Regions from separate parts of the Homo sapiens genome. Here all the other regions are linked to region 3. The links are contacts of gene promoters, found by promoter capture Hi-C in blood cells and fetal thymus (Javierre and others, 2016). All regions are on one chromosome and are shown on one strand. The core of a region is centred on a gene start or on the middle of the fragment in contact, and the rest is flanking DNA. Distances in the headings are between cores, read along the strand shown. Region 1 has its middle 150 kb from the start of CACNA1I. Region 2 has its middle 130 kb from the start of CACNA1I. Region 3 holds the start of FAM83F (family with sequence similarity 83 member F).

What was found. The method cuts DNA at HindIII sites, captures the fragments that hold promoters and counts their contacts. A CHiCAGO score of 5 or more calls a contact.
Region 1: a contact is called between a fragment that was not itself captured here and the fragment with the promoter of FAM83F in region 3, in 1 of 17 cell types (M0 macrophages). The highest score is 5.5, in M0 macrophages.
Region 2: a contact is called between a fragment that was not itself captured here and the fragment with the promoter of FAM83F in region 3, in 5 of 17 cell types (M0 macrophages, non-activated CD4 T cells, M2 macrophages and 2 more). The highest score is 6.9, in M0 macrophages.

The regions. Positions count from the first base shown.
Region 1 is chr22:39,721,701-39,726,540 of GRCh38, forward strand. No RefSeq gene overlaps it. Among named protein-coding and RNA genes, the nearest start is that of CACNA1I, 150 kb to the left of the region's middle. The HindIII fragment of the contact is 6,457 bases long and covers 196-4,840 here.
Region 2 is chr22:39,698,603-39,703,292 of GRCh38, forward strand. No RefSeq gene overlaps it. Among named protein-coding and RNA genes, the nearest start is that of CACNA1I, 130 kb to the left of the region's middle. The HindIII fragment of the contact is 7,974 bases long and covers 1-4,690 here.
Region 3 is chr22:39,993,511-39,998,320 of GRCh38, forward strand. It overlaps FAM83F (family with sequence similarity 83 member F), which reads left to right and starts at 1,444. Exons shown (of 5, transcript NM_138435.4): 1 at 1,444-2,021. The coding sequence starts at 1,533. LOC124905155 reads left to right here. Exons shown (of 2, transcript XM_047441700.1): 2 at 838-1,258. The coding sequence ends at 1,258. RefSeq lists enhancers at 1,159-1,792, 3,905-4,510, 4,511-4,810 and a silencer at 1,367-1,486. The HindIII fragment of the contact is 8,768 bases long and covers 8-4,810 here.

The DNA of each region.
Region 1 (4,840 bases), core at 2,174-4,673, 270 kb before region 3:
CAGCCCCTCTGTTTTTCAGATGAGCAATGCAATACTCCCAAAGGCTAAGATAGCTTGCCCTAGGTCAAGGTCATCAGCCTTAACAGTTAGAGCCTATGTGGCTTCAATCCTTGCTCTGCCTATGGTAAAGTCCTTTCCAACTTATTATAGTGCCAGCCTTTAGTCTAAGGAGCAAAAGACCTAGATTCTGTTCCAAGCTTGTGTCTAGGAGGCCTTGGGTTAAGCACTGACTCATTTTGAAAGTGGTGATAATTTCTGTACCCATGAGTATGGCTGGGTTTTGCTGCAGTAACACACATTCATGCTATACCCACTGCTGGCTAACTGGGGACCCTGCTCTGGGGGTCCTCCTTCTGGGACCTGGGCCACACCAGGGCAGGCAACAAGTGACTTGTAGCGGAAAGGCTTCAGCCGTATCCTTTAAGTGACATGGCCATGCCTAACTTCCAGGGGGTGGGGAGCACCATTTCGCCTTGTCCCTGGGAGAAAGAGAACCAGGCACTCGTGCCTACGATGGGAGTTTCCCAGCTTGCTTCACTGGGTTGTTAGGATGGAGAGGGAATTGTGTATGATGTGCCTTGTGAGATATCAAGCCCTCTGCAGATGTAAATTACACACACGAAACACAAATGTAAATTACAAACATAAACCATGAATGTCTCATCATTGTTGTTGTCACTCCCATCTTCAACACCATTCCAAGAATCAGCCGTGGCCGTCGGACGCATCCCCTTCCTGTCAGGACAAAAGACCCGGAGCAGACCCGCACTGTGGCTGTGCGGGCTGCACTGGGTTCCTGGTGCGCTGATTGTCTTTCCATTTTTCCTTCCTCTGCCAAGGTTTCTATCATTATCCAATCCCAAAGCCACAGAAGCACCAGAATTTTAGTAGACTTGGGCCCTAGAGCCTGATAGCAAGCCATCATGGTGCACAGCTACAGATGGAACGTGCTGGGTCTTTAAACTGTGACATGAACACTGTGGTTTTTATACCATTCCACGGGCCTCATCGCCCTGCAGGGTGGTTGGGAGGTTTCTGGGAACACATTCAAGGGTGGGGTGCCCATTTGATTGTTTCTGTTTTGCTGTCCCTGGCCCTGTGCCAAAGCTATACCATAGGTTGGCTACCATGGCTTAAAAAAACATCTCTGAGAAAGATCCTGACAATCTCTAACAGGGTCTAAATGTCTGGCATTGAGGTTTATGCTTCCAAAAGTCTTTCTTTTCTCTTTCCCTCAACCTCATTCCCCTTCCCTCAGCAACTCCATCTTTCTTTTGAGATGGAGTCTCACTCTGTGGCCCAGGCTGGAGTGCAGTGGCACGATCTCGGCTCTCTGCAACCTCTGCCTCCCAGGTTCAAGTGATTCTCTTGCCTTAGCCTCCCGAGTAGCTGGGACCACAGGCACGCATCACCATGCCCAGCTAATTTTTGTATTTTCAGTAGAGACAGGGTTTCATCATGTTGGCCAGGCTGGTCTCAAATGCCTGACCTCAAATGACCCACCTGCTTCGGCCTCCCAAAGTGCTGGGATTACAGGTGTGAGCCACCGTGCCTGGCATCCTTCTCCTTTCTGATGACCTTGTCTCATCTTCCTCATGCTCCCCTCCACCCCACCCACCTGACACACACACACACACACACACACACACACACCCCTTAAGCTCTAGCTTCCTTCTCTCTGCATCTCTTCTCTGATAGGACGTGTAGATAATGAAGTTTCAGGAAGACACCCTTGGCTTCAGACAGACCCGAGTTCAATTCCTGATGCTCACTCTCGCTGGCTGGGTGATCTTGGGCCACTCCTAACCTCCCTGCACCTAGTTTCCTCACCATAGCTGGGGAAGGCAGCACTTTACAGGTTCACAAATGGGCCAGGGGTGACCGTGCCCGCCTTCTGCCTCCTGCCCTCCCTCTCCTCTCCCGCTGGTAACCCTGGCTCAGGGCCTGCACCTGCCTGCCCTGGACTCTCCCAGCCCCCATGTGATGATGGAGCCCACCTGGGCCCGGCGTTGGGAGGCCTCACTCCAGTCTCCAGTCTTCAGGGCTCCAGGCCTGCCCTTCCGAATCCAGCTGAGCAGGAGGAAGACGGCTGCGGCTGAAGCCTAAAGGTCGAGGTGGAGACTTGGGAGGTGGTGGGGCTTTGGCAAATGGGCAGCCCAGGAGCAGTGTGGGTGGGACAAAGGGATCTCCAAAGCCCAGAAAGAACAGCTGCATCTGCCTAAAGAGAAGTCAGGGTAAGAATGAGAATTCCTTTATTATCACTTCTGACAATTTGGACTGGACTTCTTATCTGTGACTCTATTCAGAGGCTGGACCACGTGGGTCCATGACTCATGGAACTGAATCTCCTCTGTATGGTGCCTCCCACAGTGTAGGTGCTTGGGAAACCCTAGTTCTGTCCCAAGTCCCCTGCCTGCTTGGATTCTCTGTTGCTTTCATGGCTTGGACCCACCTCCACATGGCCATAAGAGCAGCCCCTCGGGAGGGCTCTGGGCTGGGTGCACCCTCACTCCAGGTGTACCCTCACTCCAGGCTCACCCTCCAGCCATGCGGCTCTGCAGTCTCTGGCCCCCTTCCAGCCCTGGTGGAATCATTTGGCATTCTTGACCTGGTGCTTGGGCCAGCCTTGCAGCCTCTGCAGGGAGCCATTTCTGGCCACCGTAGGCCTGTCTCTCCCTCACCTCACCCAGCCTGCTCCCATCACTCCCTTTCCCAGAAGAGGCAGGAGAACAAGGGAATTAGGGTAACCAACGGTTAAGGCAGAAGCAAAAGAACAACAGGTGCAGCCAGTTCTAGGCAAGATTGGGCAGCACACAGGCCACACCCTCCCTCCTGTCATAACAAGGCAGAAGTTTCCACCTCAGCCTCTGATTGGCTGCAAGCGAAGTCTCCACTTCACCCTCTGATTGGTTGCAGGCCAATCCTTCATAGGGTGTAACCAATTGGAGGACTCTAAAGGGCACCTAGGGGTGTTACCAAACATTTGCGACTTAATAAAACCCTAATAGTGGCTCTTGAGCCGCTTGCTCCAGCCTGCTCCTGCTCTGTGGGTTGTACTTTTGGGCTTTGATACATCTGTGCCTTCCTTACTCTGTTCTTTTGTTGCATTGTTTGTGTGTTTTGTTCAATTCTTTGTTCAACATGCCAAGAACCTGGACAACTCACAGCCAAGACCTTCCATCTGGTAACAAGAGAACTCGGGCAGGAAGGACTGTGCCCCACCCCACCTGAGGCTTGAGACACTTCCTAATGTTCCTGCTGGGCCCTGGCCCTGCTTGGCCCCAACTCCTTGTCCCCTCAGCTCTGCTTTCGCCGTCTCCAGGACATGGGATGCTAACAGAGGCCGTGGGTGAGGAGGAGCTCCTGAGCCAGGAAGGTGGCTGGCTTCACCGTCACCGGCCTGGTCCTCTGCGGAACAGACCTCAGAAGCGGACCCTCTTGAAGGCATGTTTGGAATAGGCCGATTCCTTTTGGGGTGGATGCTAATTCCTCCCAGTTTTGCTGGGGAGGGCCTGGCAGGCAAACTTCCATGCCTCCTTTGACCCAGAGCTGTTCTCCACCCACTAGCCAGTCAGGGGAAAGATCACCTGTAGGTCTCCACCTTCCTACAGCAGGCCTACATCTTCCTGCCTATTTCCCAACACCTCCCTGCAGAATCACAGAAATGGCAGAGTTGGAAGGGCCCACAGAGGGTCTGAGCCCACCCCTCACAGGCCCTCATGTACAGCAGGGTCCCTTCGCTCATGCCAAGCCAGGGCCAGCGTCTAGGTCTTTGGACTCCCAGCTAAAAGACAGAGGCTTCCTCCTGTCTCCCCACCACCTGTCTCTGCACAAGTGGCTCAGGGACTTGCTCTGAAGTGAGCCCGAATAGCAGACATGACTCAGCTGTAAGCTATAGTGACGGCTCCCTGCCCTTCCCGCCAGCCCCCTTAAGCCTCACGCTGAGACTGCCATCCTGGCTCTCAACAGTCCAGCCAGATCCACTTGTCCTTCAAGTGGGCACTGAATGCGTCTCCTTGCAGAACAGGTGTCTTCAAACCTCCCAGAGCTTTAAACACAAGGATCTTGCAGACTGAGGAAGGAGGGATGCTCACACCAGGAGAGGCAGCAGGGCCCTGCAGGACCCTGAGTCACACCTCCAGGTTTGGCTTTCTGTGGCATGCGTTCACTGGTGTATTTAAATCACTCTCTCCTTCTCTTCTGCAGGCAGGTATCACTGAAGTATGCATATGGAGTTAGGTGTGCTTATGACGTGACTCAACTGTGTGTGGGTAGCAAGATCCATGTCCTCAAAGTGAAGGTCACCCTGAAACCCAGCCAAGGTCAGCACCTGCCATGGTTTGGAGGCAGAGCTGAAGGCAATCAGTGTATAATGGATGGAATTAGTTGTAGCCCATTCCACACTGTGATTTGGAGAGAGCTTATTTGTAAAAGAGGCTTTTTCTCTAGGTTGTTAGAAAGCAGCCACTGTGCAATGTAATATAAAAACAGCTGTAATTTTGGAAATTGTAACATGTCACCAAGTGATGCTGATGTCATGGAGTGAGAGAAGTTTCTAGGAGACAGGGAATTCAGAAGGAGAATGAGAAGGAGAGAATGGGTCAGAGCTTCAGAAGCCCCCTCTAGGGGATGGGCAGCTCTGTCTCTGGTGTGGCCATTGTCCCACCCTGATGGAATTCTTTCCCCAGCAGGTGTTTCCCAGATCTTTGGGATGCTCCAGGCACTGCGCTAGGTTCTGGTGACCTTGTCCTTAAAGGATTTATGTGCTAGAAAGGACAGCAAGAGACTAGAAAAGGGATGAAGTTCCCTGCCTGCTTCTCTGACGTCCTTCTGTGTGGCT
Region 2 (4,690 bases), core at 157-2,656, 290 kb before region 3:
CCTTCACCTCCCCATCACCTCCTCCTTTACCTCCCCTTCATCACCCCCCCATCACTCCCCATCATCTCCCCTTCACCTCCCCTTCACCTCCCCATCACCTCCCCATCACCGCCTCCTTTGCCTCCCCTTCATCACCTCTCCCATCACTCCTCATCACCTCCCCATCACCTCCTCCTTCACCTCCCCATCACCTCCTCCTTCACTTCCCTTCACCTCCCCATCACCTCCCCTTCACCTTCCCTTCACCTCCCCATCACCTCCTCCTTCACCTCCCCATCACCTCCTCCTTCACCTCCCCATCACTGCCTCCTTCACCTCCCCATCACCTCCTCCTTCACCTCCCCTTCACCTCCCCATCACCTCCTCCTTCACCTCCCCATCACCTCCTCCTTCACCTCCCCATCACCTCCTCCTCCTTCACTTGCTGTCACCTCCTCATCACTCCCCATCACCTTCCCCATCACTCTCTATCACCTCCCCGATCACCTGCCCATCACTCCTCATCACCTCCTCCTTCACCTCCCCATCATTCCCCATCACCTCCTCCTTCACCTCCCCATCACCTCTTCCTTCTTCACTCACCGTCACGACCTCCCCATCACTCCCCATCACCTCCCCCATCACCTCCCCATCACTCCCCATCACCTCGCCCATCACATCCGCCCGCCTTAGCCTCCCAAAGTGCTGGGATTACAGGTGTGAGCCACCGCGCCCGGCCTCTAAGGCAGGATTTCTATGTCACAGTCTCTGGGTGGGATTCTATGTTCTTTGGAAAGCCTCTGTTTTTCCTCTGAAGGCCTTCAGCAGATTGGATGAGGCCCACCCAGGTGACGAGGGGTAATTGCTTTTACTCACAGTTAACTGATTGTAGGTGTTAGTCATAGCCACAAAATACCTCCACAGAAACATCTAGATTTGCATTTGGCTGAGCAACCGGGCACCGTAGCCCAGCCAGCCTGACACATAAATCAGAGGGTACGGCTGGGTTCAAACCCTGGCTCCAGCCCGTGTGAGTGGTGGCCCATCTGCCGCACCTGAGCCTTGGCAGCCGGCAGGCTGGTGGCACTTCTCCTGGCGGGCTGCTGAGAGGAGCAGAGAAGGCTGCGTGCATTGGGTTCCCAGCTGGGAGTCCTGACACCCGTCCTCTGGCCTGCTGTGTCACTGCAGAGCCTGTTGTGGGAATGTTGCCAGCCGCAGGAAGCCAGTCCTCATCCCTGGGAGAAGAGCTTCTTTGTAGTCATTAGAGCTCTGATGGCTTCTTGATGACATGTTTGCACAGTGGGTGGCCTGAGGACTCCAGTGACTGCAGGCAAGGTGTCATCGATGGCTTTGGAGATGAAATTTCTAGTCCTGCTAGCCCTGGGTCCGTCCCATCTCTGGAGTGTGCACTGTCTCCTGCCAGGTAAGGCTGGGCTGCTCCTAGAGTCCCACCTGTTCCAGCCCAGGGGAGGCCGCCTGCTGCTCTGACTCCAGTGCTATTGACCATGTGGTCCCCGCACAGGCATAGTCCTCCCCCAGGCCCTGGAGCCTTGGCCTGAATGTGCTGTTGCCTGAGTAACACGGCCCCTGTCCTCAGACGCGCTGTGGCCATTGTCCTCTTGTCCCTGGGCCGCCTTTGTGTGTGCCTGTGTCCCCGACTACCTAGGAATTCCTGGAGAGCAGGACCACAGCTGCGTTGTCTGGAGCTCGGTGGCCAGTGTGGGGCCTTGCCTAGAGCTTTGCCTTGGTGGGAAGAAGCGGCGGAATCTTTCTCAGCACCAGTGTCCCATTTGCAGTGCCAGGGGCCACTTGGGCTCTGTAACCCGCCGTCCCACCTTCTGAGAGCCAGGCCAGATAAACATCCTGACGTCCCTACGCCAGACAGCGATTCTGCATGTGACACTAAGCTGTGGGATCACAAAGAGAGGCTTTGATTCTGGCAAATGGTGGGCCCGTGGACTGTGCTGTCCCACCAGCTGACACACCCTTGGTCCCAGGGGTTTTCGTCCTGCTTGTTAACCCCTGACATGGCAGGCAGCTCTCCTGTGAACAGTGATGAGGGACACAAGCACACCCATCTCATGGCTCTGCCATCGTCACCCTAAGGCTTCTAAGGCCACTGAAGAAGGGGAAGGGCATGGAGCATTGTGTGGGAGGGTTTTATGGGCCAGGCTCAGGAATGGTGCCCACCACTCCCACCCACATCCCACTGGACAGAACGCAGACACGTGGCCGTGCTCAGTGCAGGGGAGTCTGGCTCTGCGGTCCAGCTGTGAGCCCAGAGGAAGAAGAAATGGTTTGGTAAAGCAGTGAGACCTGTTCTGCTACAGTCAGACTTTCTGGGGCGGGGGTGGGGTAGGAGGGCTTCTGCTACAAAACCCCTAAAAATCCAGGACAAGTTGCCACAAACTTCTTTATTCAACGCACAGCTAAGTTTGCAAGGGAGTAAGGAAAATTTCTGAGAGCCAGAAATGAAGAGGAAACTGATGCCAGACAGGAAGCAAACGCTGACTTCTGGATGCCCTGAGGCGTTTTGCCCACATCTGGGGCCTGGGACCTTGTGCAGGGAACAGAAGACACTACATCTTGAGCTGAGAAAAGGTTGGGAGTGGCACGTAAGACTCTTATCTCAAGCTGGAGTCCTCAAAGGCTGTACCTTCAGTGTAAGGGCTCTAAAACAACAAACTTCTAGCAAATAAAAATGACAATGATATTCATTTGTCCTGGCCTCTGCAATCAATGTGGATAAAAGGATTCCTTCCTAAGAATGTGTCAGTTTAGGCTGCGGATCGCTCGGGATCGGGTTCAAATTTTTGGAGTGGTCCAGAAACCCCAAGCCAAGAAATTAACCTAAAGAGGTGTTGGGTTGGTGGACCTGGGCACACGGCCAGAGCAAGCCCTCATCAGGGTCCTACCGGGTCCCTACAGAACACTGCCAGGCCCACAGCCTCAAACTGCAAAACCTAGGAGAGAACATTCCACAGTGAGTCGCAGTTGAAAGAAGCCATACATGTAAAACTAGATCAAAAGATTTGACGTTTGAATGATCAGAAATAGAATAAAAATAAGTTTAAAAATCCTAGGCCGGGAACAGTGGCTCATGCCTGTAATCCCAGCACTTTGGGAGGCTGAGGCGGGCAGATCACCTGAGGTCAGGAGTTCAAGACCAGCCTGGCCAACATGGCAAAACCCCATCTCCACTAATAATACAAAAAATTAGCTGGACATGGTGGCGCCTGCCTATAATACCAGCTACTTGGGAGGCTGAGGCAGGAGAGTCACTTGAATCCAGGAAGCAGAGGTTGTGGTGAGCTAAGATCGTGCCATTGCACTCCAACCTGGGCAACAGAGTGAGACTCCATCTCTAAAGACATTTAAAATATGGAGAGCATAGACAAGGAAAAACAGACTACAAAAGTGTTCAGGGAGATATGAAAAAAAGAGTCAAACAGAACTTCTTGAAATGCAAAATGTAATAAGTGAAATGAGAAACTCAGTGCATTGGCTGAACAGCAAATAGACCCAGTGCAGGAAGGAATCAGCGGACTAGAAGATGGAGCTGAGGCAACCGCCAGAAGGTACAACGCAGGACAGAACTTGCGAGGTGGAAGCTCAGAGGGAAGGTCAGAGCGAGAAGTGAGAATGCTCATCCGCTCGCAGCTCCAGAAAGCGCTAAGAGGGAGAGGGGCGAGACTTGCTGTTCAAAGAGATAATGGCTGAGGATTTTCCAGAATTGTTAAAAGACACGAATTTCAGTTCAGAGAACATGATAAAGCATGAGCAAGGGATTAAACAAAAACTCCATGCTTGGACCCAACACAGTGATATACAATAGCAAAGAGACGGTTTCAAAAGAAGCTGCTGAGGAGACTAATTACCTACAAATGCATGGCAACTAGGTGGCAGACCAACTTCCTGACCGCACTAATAGAGACCACAGGCCTGGAAAACAACGTCACCAAACACTAGTATGAACAGGTTAAATAACTGCCCACCTCGCATTTGTACTGAGTAAAAATATCTTTCAAGAACAAGATGTCGGCATCTTCGGACAATCCCAAGTGAGCTTGGAGCCTCCCTTGAGCCATTTCTAAAGGAAAATATTTCCAGAAGGAAGGTCCCAAGAGGCAAGAGTGAGAGGGCAAAGAAATGGTCAACTGTGCGGGAGAAGCTGAACACACATTCACTTCCTAGAACAATTGTCCTAATGCCTAATTTGGGGGATAAAAGAGACTGAGCGTCCATCAGGATACTAGCGTTTCCCATGATGCTGATGTTGATGCTTTCCGGAAAAATACTAAATACCAGATTCTTCTAGAACTGTTTTCTGCTTTGCCAGTGCTCCGAGTACACACTTTGTCCACCTATGAGCCCCTTGACCACAGTGCAGAGAACACTGTCAGGCCGCAAACTCTTGGCCGAAGGAGAGAATTCCCTGGATGCTGGTTCCCTTGGGACCCAGTCTCCCATGCCCCAGCCTAGTGGGTCTCCCCAGAAACACCTGGTCACTTAAGACTTGGGTGCTGGGCCCTGCCCAGGAGTGGCTGATCCCTGCTGAGAATCAGCGTTTCTACAAGCTCCCAGGTGCTGGTCCCAGACCAGTCTGAGAAGCGCTGCTGTAGCTGATGACCCCCTCGTCTCCTCAGCCTGTTGCAGGGTTAACACCCCTCCTCCAGGAAGCCTTCTGGCAGAAACACCTCAGCAGGCAAGC
Region 3 (4,810 bases), core at 194-2,693:
GGAGTGAAGCTTTCCAGTTCCCAAGAGGGGTAAAGGACAAGTGAGGTGATGGACACCTTGCTGCTCACCACTCCCAATCTTTGGGCTGACACAGGATGCCAGAACTGATTATTGTAAAAAAAAAAATAATAATAACAATAATGTGCAGACATTTGAAAATCTAACTCTCATTTTTTCCAGAGCATGAAAGGAAGGCCTAGAAATGGTAAGTGACCTTTTCAAATCCCCTGGGGTGAAAACCAGGTCCCCAATAACCTGTCGTTTCACAAGAAAAGGAGAAAGGGTAAAGGCGGCCGTGATGTCAGCGAAAGACCTCCAAGACAGAAAACCTTGCAGTCCCCGTGCTCTGCCTCTTTCACGGGAGACCTGGGCAACGCACACGTTGCTAGGCCTCAATTTCTTCAACTGTAAAATGAGGGGGTTGGAGGAGCTTGAAAAGCTCCTTCCAGCTCTGAGATGCTGCGCTATAAAGTGAGAGAAATGTGAACCTTTAGTTGTTATGATCTGAAAATATTTTGAATGTGGAGAATCAAATTGTAGAGCAGTGCATGAACAACATAATATGTTAATGACTAAGACGATTGTATTTAATCCGATGGGAAACAGCAGAGCTGCTGCCACCGCTGCTGTGTGTGTGCGTGTGTGTGGTGTGCACGCACGTGCGGTTTCCTTCCTTGAGCTCAAACATACATTTTGAATCACTAATATAGTAATCATGTCTCTGGCAGCCTATCTTGCCCAAACACACACGGAGAGACACCACACACCCTACTTCAAATTAAGGTGGGGGCGGGGGGAATTCCACTGCTGCTCTTTACATCATTTCTGTTTGGATAGCTATTTTTTAAAAGAAAGTTTTACAGTGAAGGTGTTGGACTCCCAGCCCAGAAGGGCTCTGATCTCAGAACTGGGACGCAAGGGTGGGGAGCTCGAGCTCTCATTAGCATTTCGCTTTTGCACACCCCCTGCCCGCTCCTCAGCCGTCACAATCCCGTCCTGCAGCAGGCCCCCCCACCAACACCGGACCCTCGACGGGGAAGGGGTCAGCTCGGCGGCCCCAGAGGCCACTGGGCCAGAACACGTGCTCCGGACTCCACGTGCGCGGAAAATGAACTCGTACCCGCGACGCGGCCGGCGGGGGCGGATGGCAGCGAGGGCCGGACAGCGAACCTTTACCCCGCGGAGGAGTCGGGGCCGGAGCCCGCACGTGGGTCTGCGACGGCCCCGCCCCCTGGGGGCGTCCCCTCAGGGACTCTAGCCCCGGCTGGTGGGCCCTGCAGGCCCGGGCCCGACCGCGTCCGCCAGGCCGCCCGGAGGTCCCGGCGAGCCCGGCGGAGGCGGCGGCCCCTCCCCGCCCGACGGCCACGCCCGCGCGGATTGGCCGCTCCCCGACGGCGGGGCGGGGCGGGACGGGCCGGGGCAGAGCTCGCGGCCAGGTGAGGCGCCCCGCCCCTCGGCGGCTCCAGGTGCGGCTGTGGGACCTCGGACCGCGGCGGGGCCGGGGCCAGGGCCGGGGCCGGGGCCGGGGCGCCATGGCCGAGTCCCAGCTGAACTGCCTGGACGAGGCGCACGTGAACGAGAAGGTGACCGAGGCGCAGGCCGCCTTCTACTACTGCGAGCGGCGGCGGGCCGCGCTGGAGGCGCTGCTGGGCGGCGGCGAGCAGGCCTACCGCGAGCGGCTCAAGGAGGAGCAGCTGCGGGACTTCCTCTCCAGCCCGGAGCGCCAGGCCCTGCGGGCCGCCTGGAGCCCCTACGAGGACGCCGTCCCCGCCGCCAACGCCCGGGGCAAGAGCAAGGCCAAGGCCAAGGCCCCCGCGCCGGCGCCGGCTGAGTCCGGCGAGTCCCTGGCCTACTGGCCCGACCGTTCCGACACCGAGGTGCCTCCTCTGGACCTGGGCTGGACGGACACTGGTTTCTACCGCGGCGTGAGCCGGGTCACGCTCTTCACCCACCCGCCCAAGGACGAGAAGGCGCCGCACCTCAAGCAGGTGGTCAGGCAGATGATCCAACAGGCCCAGAAGGTAGGCCCCCGCCTTCGCCCCCACACCGCTGGGACCTCGGCCCCAGTCCCCTGGACCGGGCCCCACCTCCCAGGCAGGGCCCGGGGCAGGCCGCCCTGAGCACCCTCTGGAAAATGGGCCCCAACCCGCCCCTACTTCCTGGGGCTGCAGTGAGGCCTGTAGAGCGAATGGCTGGGAACGTGTTTGGCAAATTACAAGGTGCTGGACAGATGTCAGCCGTCGGTATTCCAGCGTTCAGAGGCACTGGCTCTGCTCTGTACTTCTGAAACTTCCCTGTCCAGCCTTCCTCCCCAGGGAAGACTGGGGGCCGAGGCCCTGTGGTTAAAATGCACCACTCAAAGGTCTTGATGATAACCTACGTGCTGCCCAGAACATATCCCGAGCCGCTTTCTCATGTGATCGTCAAAACAACTTCAGGGAGTGGGTGGCGGTGACCTTCCCGGTCCCACCTCTGCCATGCTGCTCCTTGGACCACCCCTCTCCTCCCATAGTCAAAGCTGAGCTGGCGCCCTCACAGTCACAGCCTCTCCTGGGCCGGGTACTAGGCCCCAGCTGCCTGGAATGAATGGGGGACGGGGTATATTGAGGACCTACTGTGTGCCTGGCCCTGTGCTGGGCGCCTTGGCACAGCAGGTCACCTGACTCGGCAGCTCAGGAAAGGGCTCCTACTTAGCATATGTGTCCTGCTTGAGAGTTGGAAGGAGGGGCTGTTTCCAGGGTGGCTGGTGAGGCCAGTCCACTGTGGAACAGGTGGAAGACTTTAATCTTTATGCCTTTGGGTGGGAGTCCTGGGCAGCTTCCAGATCAAATGTAGGATGCCCCACTACATTTGAACTTTCAATAAACAACACATAACTTTTTAGTATCAGCTTATCCCAAACATGACATGAGACGTACTGATACTGAAAAATTCTTCGTTGTGTATCTGAAATTCAAATTGAATGGGAACGTTTTGTACTTTTATTTGCTAACTCTGGCTGCCCTACACTGAGATTTGTTAAGAAACAGCAGCAGCTTTTGGTGCCCAATTCAGAATAATACAACAGGAGTGGCTTGGGTTCACCACTCAAATTCCACTCAGTGAGTGAGGTTGGAGTCCTGGTTCCCCTCGAGGCTGAAGAGGCCTGAGGAGGGAAAATAGAGCTAGAAAGACCAGTGCTCAGGCTCATCTTCCTGGAAGGGGTGATTTAGGTAGTTGGGGTGATCTAGATAGTTGGCTACATTGGCTACCAGAAGGAAGGGTTAACTTTCCACTGCGCACATTTCTACCCTCCCTCTCTATAATTCCTCCCTGTCTGACTGAGTTTTCTTTGTATATTGTGTTCTGCAGAAGAAAAAGGCAAGATTGGACACAGAAGAGGGAAAAAGGATGTAGGCGGCAATACAGGCTGCAGCTGGGGTTAGGGGTCAAGTCTCATGATGTCATACTAACAAAGCCTCTATTTATTTAGCATTTAATATGTGCCATCCACTGTGTTAATGACTCACCTGCATTTTCTCATTAGCTTTTCACAACAACCGGGTGAATATGTGTTTTCCTTATTTTTGGAGAAAAAGACATCAGGATTCAGAAGTTTCTTGCCAGAGTTTCCATAGCTAGTAAGTGGCTGAGCCAGGACCCAAACTCCAAAGCCCTTGCTCTTAACCACTGTGCTACACTGCCCCAGTGTCTGAAATAATGGTGCAGTCCGATTAAGCAAGGGGTTTGAATGAAGCTAGCCTGGTCACAACCTGGAGTGCAGGTGGTGTACCCCTGTTACTAGAAGGGGGAGACTGGGCTTCTGGCCACTGAGGCATCTAGTCCCATGTGGGATGACAGGACTCTTTCCTGCATAGTGAGGTATTTTTGACTCTTTAAATATTTAACAACAGAAACTTTTAACAATTGTGAACCCATCCAATAAGTACAGGTTTAACCAGTGATTTCCTGAGGGCTGACTGTGTGCCAGGCACTACCTAGCCATGAAGAAGATACACGGTGTGGCTTTGCCCTCCAAGAGCTTAACAAATGCTAGGGCTCTGCTGGAAAGAAAAGAGTTTTTAAGGCTGAATGTGCCTAATCTGGGAAGGCTTCCTGAGGGAGGTGAGTTGCAGAATTGGAAAGGGAGAGGGTCAACTGGAATGGGCACTGTTTCAGTAAGAGAGCTTTTTGCTTCGAAAAAGCAAGGAGGTTTGATTGGCAGGTAAAAAGAGCTGTCGTGGGGGGAGGTGAGTACTGTGTGGGGCCTGGTTTGGGGACCCTAAAACTGGGCCCAAGGCAGGCAACCACCCCCAAGGAAGCAACAGTGTTGGACACTGTCTGCGCCCACCCAAGTATCAGGACCTCCGGGTCCCCACCCTTAATCACTGTCCTGCCTGTCCGCACAGCCTCTTCTTCCCGAAGACCCTGAGAAGAAGTTGGGACAGAGAGGTTGACCCTGTTTCACAGGTGAGGAAACTGAGGCACAGAGAAGGAAAGAGACTTGCCCAGAGGTCACGTGGGCAGAGGTCACTTGGTTCTAGAAAAACCCAGCTTCTGCTCTAGGGACTGCACCTTCTGATCACTGCCTGTCCCCCACCCCCACGCCAGCCTGTCCAGCTGGCAGGCAGCCTTCCCTGGCCATTAACTTAGATCCTTCCTCCTCCCCTTTCGCCCTGAGGGAGGGAGTTTCCTTTGTTTCTAGTGAGAGTCTGGCTGCTGTGAGGCCAGGTGGGGCAGACTGAGATGGTTTACATGCAGGGACACGGGGGAACTGCCGAGGGGAGGCAGCAGGACATGCACACATCCAACTGTGTGCCAGAGTTTTGCA